Linked DNA regions of Homo sapiens: region 2 is linked to region 1. The links are contacts of gene promoters, found by promoter capture Hi-C in blood cells and fetal thymus (Javierre and others, 2016). All regions are on one chromosome and are shown on one strand. Each heading gives the region's core, a stretch centred on a gene start or on the middle of the fragment in contact. The rest is flanking DNA. Distances are from core to core; before and after follow the strand shown. Region 1 holds the start of B4GALT4-AS1 (B4GALT4 antisense RNA 1). Region 2 holds the start of TEX55 (testis expressed 55).

Evidence for each region. Contacts are between HindIII fragments. The CHiCAGO score rates a contact against its expected background, and 5 or more counts as called.
Region 2: a contact is called between the fragment with the promoter of TEX55 here and the fragment with the promoter of B4GALT4-AS1 in region 1, in 17 of 17 cell types (activated CD4 T cells, total CD4 T cells, non-activated CD4 T cells and 14 more). The highest score is 30.0, in activated CD4 T cells.

The regions. Positions count from the first base shown.
Region 1 is chr3:119,224,813-119,228,007 of GRCh38, reverse strand. It overlaps B4GALT4-AS1 (B4GALT4 antisense RNA 1), which reads right to left and starts at 1,522. Exons shown (of 4, transcript NR_046574.1): 1 at 1,327-1,522. B4GALT4 (beta-1,4-galactosyltransferase 4) reads left to right here. Exons shown (of 8, transcript NM_003778.4): 4 at 967-1,199. RefSeq lists a silencer at 2,548-2,720. The HindIII fragment of the contact is 1,940 bases long and covers 1,074-3,013 here.
Region 2 is chr3:119,144,611-119,147,805 of GRCh38, reverse strand. It overlaps TEX55 (testis expressed 55), which reads right to left and starts at 1,641. Exons shown (of 3, transcript NM_152539.3): 1 at 219-1,641. The coding sequence starts at 1,616. It also overlaps a transcript of IGSF11 not described here. RefSeq lists a silencer at 2,090-2,384. The HindIII fragment of the contact is 11,642 bases long and covers 1-3,195 here.

The DNA.
Region 1 (3,195 bases), core at 273-2,772:
CAGGAAGGCTCTCGTAGGCCAATTATTCTCTTTGGGTGGCTTGAAGAAGTTACTTACCTTGCCTGCTGTTGAGCAGAGCACCAAGGTGCCATTAGACACGTGAGCCTGGTCTAAGCAGCCATGGCCAGGGTAGGGGATGGTTACATGGAACAAGTCATGGCGACTTTCGCACAGGAAGGGCCTATGACTGCTTTACTCAGAAGGGGATAGCTCAATTTGCAAGCATCTTGAGATTTTACAGCCTGACCAGTATACGTGGAATTTAGAAACAAACAAACAAAAAAACCTGAGCTGTTTTCCTCCTGTGGATGGCTTTGGGTTTCATCTGTTTGGATTGCTTCCAGACACTGAGCAAATACTGTGCTCGATTGGAAACGTCTGTTGTGGTGGCAAAATGGGAGAGTTGTTGCAGTGCCACACATACCTGTTACAGCTGGGTTAGGGAGGGAGACTGGTTTCTACTTCTTTTTAGTGCTTTGCTTACAGGGAGCCAGGGTGGTTCCAGAGTTTAGGGAAGGGGTGGGAAGAGTGCCTTGTCCAGGAGCTTGATTCTGTGGAATGCTGTTGATATTTAAGAGATTTTCCCCTCCTCCTGGAATTTGGTGAAGGAAAAGAGGATAGACCAAAGTTGAAGTTACTCTGTCTAGCCCTGCCCTTTGCTCTTACCAGAGTTCACCAGGATATTCCCTCTTACAGATGGATCATAGAGCAAGTTGATTACCCAGCCACAAGGAAATGCTTATATTATATATCCACCACTTGCTTTTGCAGCCAGTAACCTTAGTGACATGATGCTCTGGCCATTATCATGACTAAATGAGCCTTTAAAGTAATCATAATAAAAGCTGACATTTGTAGTACTCACTGTGAGCTGGGCAGTGTTCTTTCTATGCATATTAGCTCGTGTAAACCTCAACACTTTTTGAAGTAGCTACTGTTATTGTCTGTGTCCTATGTTCATTGTAGGAGGCCAGAGCAAGCTCATTTTCAAACCAGATCTCACTTTGGAAGAGGTACAGGCAGAAAATCCCAAAGTGTCCAGAGGCCGGTATCGCCCTCAGGAATGTAAAGCTTTACAGAGGGTCGCCATCCTCGTTCCCCACCGGAACAGAGAGAAACACCTGATGTACCTGCTGGAACATCTGCATCCCTTCCTGCAGAGGCAGCAGCTGGATTATGGCATCTACGTCATCCACCAGGTGAGCGTGGGGGCAGACCAGGGCCTGCCCTCGACCCTCCTCTTCTCTGCCAGACTTGGCCATGTGACTGTTTGTCTATGTTGGGTAAAAGGAACATCAGACTATCATCAAAAACGAGTTCTCTTACCTCATTTATCCTTGAAAGGAGTAGAGGAAATTCTTGTCTCAGAGTGTGGAGTTATGGGTTCAAGTTCTGGGAAATTTTACTGCCCTTAAAGGAACCTCTGGAGGAAGCCTGTTTTGTGAGCCCTTCCATGTTAGCCAATGACTGCCCTCAGATTTCCCCGGAGGCTTCCTGGCCCCTTCTGTTTCTTTCTGTGCGTGCCATGCACTATATGATGAGATTCTGGAATTGTCTGTCATTATCAACCATAGCAACTCAATGGGGATCTAGACAGAGGATTTGAAAGAACATTCTGTATTAGTAGCTGTGGTGCTCTATGGCTGCCACCACATTTCTGCCCTGAACTTTGCCACTATTTATTATGTGAAACATATTATGTTTGATTTTCACTTTCTGGATTCATCTATTTGACTTCCAGAAGCATGATTTGGTAGGAGCACAGCATAACTATCGGCTGCTTTTGAAGAGCTTACCTCTGAGGTCAGTGGAGTGGATGATTAAAGATACCTCTATTTGGCATTAAAGTTTATTGAAAGAAAACTAAGACATCAGTTTAAACATCAGTGTCTAAACTTTTCACAGTTATCCTTGGCCATCCAAGGAGGCCAAGAAGAGGGATAATTCCCCCTCAAATTCTTATAAATTCTAAGAATGTCAGCAAAATCATCACTACTGTTAGAACAGGTAATATTTCTTTTAGATAAAACTTTGGACAACTCAGAGGACCAGCTCTGCAGTATAGACTTGGTGATAAACTGAGGCTCTTGAAAATCAGTGTGCTTATATAGCACACCTATGTCTGTATTTTAGTACTTGGAACAAAATGTTACTATTATATTGTTTTATAGCTATTTTTGTTTTTAAGGTTGTTGGTCATAGTTATGATTTATTTGATTCTGAGTTCTTGCTCAGGACAGTAACCTACAAGGTATAGTACTATTTTTATGAATAGAAAAACATGTTTGCTTTGGGCCAGGCCCGGTGGCTCAGCACTTTGGGAGGCCAAGGTGGGTGGATCACTTGAGGATAGGAGTTTGAGACTAGCCTGGCCAGCATAGTGAAACCCTGTCTCTACTAAAAATACAAAATACTCTGTTAAAATACTAAAAAAAAAAAAAAAATTAGTTGGGTGTGGTGGCACATGCCTGTAGTCCCAGCTACCCAGGAGGCTGAGGCAGGAGAATCACTTGAACCCAGGAGGTGGAGGCTGCAGTGAGGTAAGATCACACCACTGCACTCCAGCCTGGGCAACAGAGCGAGATTCCATCTCAAATTAAAAAAAAAGAAAAAGAGAAAGAGAAAAATATGTCTGCTTCGTGTTATTCTTATCAGGAAAACATTGTGGTAACTTCTGAGAAATACTTGCACTTTTATGATAAACCACTTAACTGGAATTCATTCTGAAGGAATTTGAATGAAGCAGCCATGAAAAAATTATTTAATTTTTTTATTACAGCTTCAATCATATTACAGGTCAAACTGTGTTCTTTTATTGCCCAGTGACGAATCTACCTCCATAAGGCCACTGTGAGGATTAGCCTCCACCAGTAGCATTATAACAGGATTCTCTTACAGGGATTTCTGAGAAACTTTAAAGTAGCTTAGAAATATTAGCAATAACTTTCTCTTTCTATAGGTTGAGATTTCTTGATCCTTTCTGGCAAGCTATTAACTAAGTCTCTTAGAAGCTTAGTGTAAATTCATAACAGAGGGTAAGATTGGGATTACCTAGGGTTGAACTGTGAAGCAGTAATACTAATTGACATGACTAGTATATAAGAAAGGTTTTGTAGTTTTATACAGAATACGTAAAGGTATTTGTAAAATTTTAAGAGAAAATTTTTTTTTGTTAACTGTGGTAAGAATATTTAA
Region 2 (3,195 bases), core at 392-2,891, 80 kb after region 1:
AATGGCCTTTGGGTAGTAGAGAAGGCAATAATTCTCTTTTATTTCCCATCCTTCTCTTGCCCTTCCTGAAATTATGGGTCACACATACCACAACATGTGGGTTTATTCTTTATCCTTGATGCAACATGTGCCCTTCCGTTGTACCCCTATTTTTACTCTCCAGGCCCCGTCTAGATCTCTGATCTCCCAGGTAGGTATCAAATGCCCATTTAACTTACAGATTTGGTTACTATGGCTTGAGTTTTTTCTTGACTGCTGGTATAGTTCAATTTGGATGAGATGGAGGGGAGTCTTGGGAAAAGAGCTTGGTCTTTTGCTTGGAAGTTACTGGTGAATCTGGCATCAACTGGGTTGTAGGGTGGGATAGTGGTTGCATTCTGAGTTTCCATTTCAACTGAAGGCTTGGAATTGAGGTCTACTTGGCTATCCTCAAATTTGCAGGGTTGTACTCTGTAGTCAGCCTCTTTGTCCTCTTTGCTGTTGCCTAACTGGGGAAATATTCTGTCTTCAGACTGGCCACGTGTTTCATAGTAAGACAGCTGGTCTTTATGATTAGCTTGTCTGTCTGCTAAGTGGTCAGTCTGGTCAGATTCAGTGTAGTGAGCATTGTCAACTGGAGGTTGATCAGCATTACTATGAGCTTGGTCAATAGCCTGGTGTTCAGCTAGTTCAGTGGCTTGGCCGTACACTTGGTGGTGAGTCTTTACAGATGTTTTGTGGTCAACGAGGCCATACAATCTGAGGTCAGTCTGCTCAGAAGTTCCTGGGTCAGCCAGGCCAGCCAATCTGTAGTCAGTCTTCTCAGAACTTCTTCTCCTAACTTTCCCTGACATTCTGCGGTCAATCTGTACGGAAGGTCTTTGGTCAGATGGTACGGACGATCCACTGTCAATCTGTACAGAAGGACTTTGGTCAGATGGGACGGATGACCCACTGTCAATCTGCACAGAAGGTCTTCTCTCAGATAGTTTGGATAATCTGTGTGTAATCTGCTCAGAAGTTCTTCGCTCAGCCTCGCCAGACATTCTGCGGTCCATCTGCTCGGAAGCTCTTCTCTCAGACTGGCCTGCCATTCTGTGGTCGGTCTGTCTGGAACCTCTCTGGTCAGATGGCATAGCCAGTCTACCATCAATCTGCCCAGAAGTTCTTCTCTCAGCCTGGGTAGGTAATCTTCGTTCAGTCTGTTCAGCAGTTCTTTCCTCCGTCAGGCCAGACACCTGACCATCACTCTGTTCATGCTGTACATTATTAGCTTGGCTAGATGCCTTGCCTTTAGTCTGTTCAGACGGTGTTTGATTAACCTGATCATCTGCTCTAAGGTCAGAAACATCAGCAGGGTTGGATGCTCTGCGGCCAGCCTGACCAGGTGTACTATGCCCATTTTGTTCAGCTACTCCGTTGGTAGCTTGGCTAAATATGCTGGATTCAGCCTGGCTAGGCACTCTTAGGGCAGTCTGGTCAGCTATTCTGTGAGCAGTGTGGTTATCTGCCTTCCTTTCGGCCTGGTTCTTCTGGTCGTCTTCTTCCTGGCCCTTAGTGTGGCCAGCACTTGAGGGAGCGGCTGGGCTTTCATGTTTCAAGGGTTCAGCCAGAGCCTCTTGCGGAGGCTCTTCCATTTCCTGCCGCGTCCCTGACTGGTCTAGGTTGCCAGGCACTGTGGGTGGGGTTGGGCTGGGTCGTCTAGGCGACCCTCCAGGAACGCCCCATGATTCCCACGGGCTTTGTTCGGGTCACTGCGTGCGTCAGGGAGAGTGGCCGTCCCGCTGTTGTAAGTGGAGGGACGGCAGTCAGCTGACCCTGCAGTGTGCAGGCGAGCGCAGGGAGTACGCCATGTCCTGAGAAGGGGCGATTCTCAGGCTCTGGCAGTTACAGCTTCTCCTCACCCTGCCGAGCAACCAGGCCACGGGGCTCCGTGCATCGCCACCTAGAGTGTTACCCTCTTCCTTGTTCACAGAGGTTCTCCGCAGTGTGTGAGAAAGAGGCCCTCTCTCAGGTACTGCTCCTCTGATTAACATCCCCCACCGCACCTCCAAATGTCAACAGATGAACACACAACCAGCTGCACGAGGACCACAAAACTGAACAGAGGTTGTTGCTATTGCCATCCCCTTTGGGTATAGCTGTCTTGGCAGTGGAAACTCCTGCCCCAAGGTGTTTTCTTGCTGGATTAGACATGTGATCTGTGGCGGGAGAGCCAGAGAGAGGAGAGAAGATCCAGTGAGAATGGGTTCTAAAACTGCACCATCTAGTGGTCTTACAGCAGAGAGGCGAGTTAGAAGGAGGCCAAATCAGAGTTCCAGAAAGGAAGGGAGTAAGGAAAGTGGGAGAAAGATACCAGAAGGAATATTTAGCAAGTGGAGAATTTGTATTTGATAGTGTTGGCCAGTGGGGCCCAGTTTTTGAGATTTGGTCCTCCCACTTTGCAATCAACCTTAAGAATGCACCTCAGAGTCAGTAGGCTGTCTACTTTCAGGAGTAGGCCAGTACAGAGGTGGTGATTGATGAGACAAATTACTTTGACCTTGCAAAGCCTGAAATCACTGAGGCAGGCCAAGGGTTGGTAGTGTGATGCCAGATATTCCTTTAGTAGGGATTTAACTGCATTAAACAATTAGAAATGAGACTTAAAATCCAAATTCAAATACTTGTGACAAAGGAGAGTGGATACACTTGACACCATACTTAGGAATGGAAAGGGGAATCTAAGCACACTGAAGTAAAGTCATTTATGTAACAGTGCCTAGAACATAATAGGTGCTCAAGAAGTGCTTGTTGAATGTCACTTTATGAATTATCTACCTTATTTATTTAAAAATGCATGACACCATTGGATACTGTGTTTAGAGTAAAATAGGTCTTGGGCTATGGCTTGTAGCTTCAAAGTGCTATTGGTTTTGGAGATTTATTTTTCCATTTTATAACTTAAATGTAATAATCATAGAAATATAAAAAAGAAAGCGTAAAGAAAAAAATTCCCAAACACTCAAGAGATAACCTGTATTGACATTTTGATGTTTATCCTTCTGGAAATACCCCCATGCAAATCTATGTGTCTATATCTATAGGTATGTATATATTTTACAAAATGATGATTTATCAATTTGAGATCTTTTTTTTAAATGTAGCTGTTTTATAGTTACAAATTTCCCTCTGAGCTGATGCTTTTGCTGCATCTCTCAAGTGTTTGGTGTTATG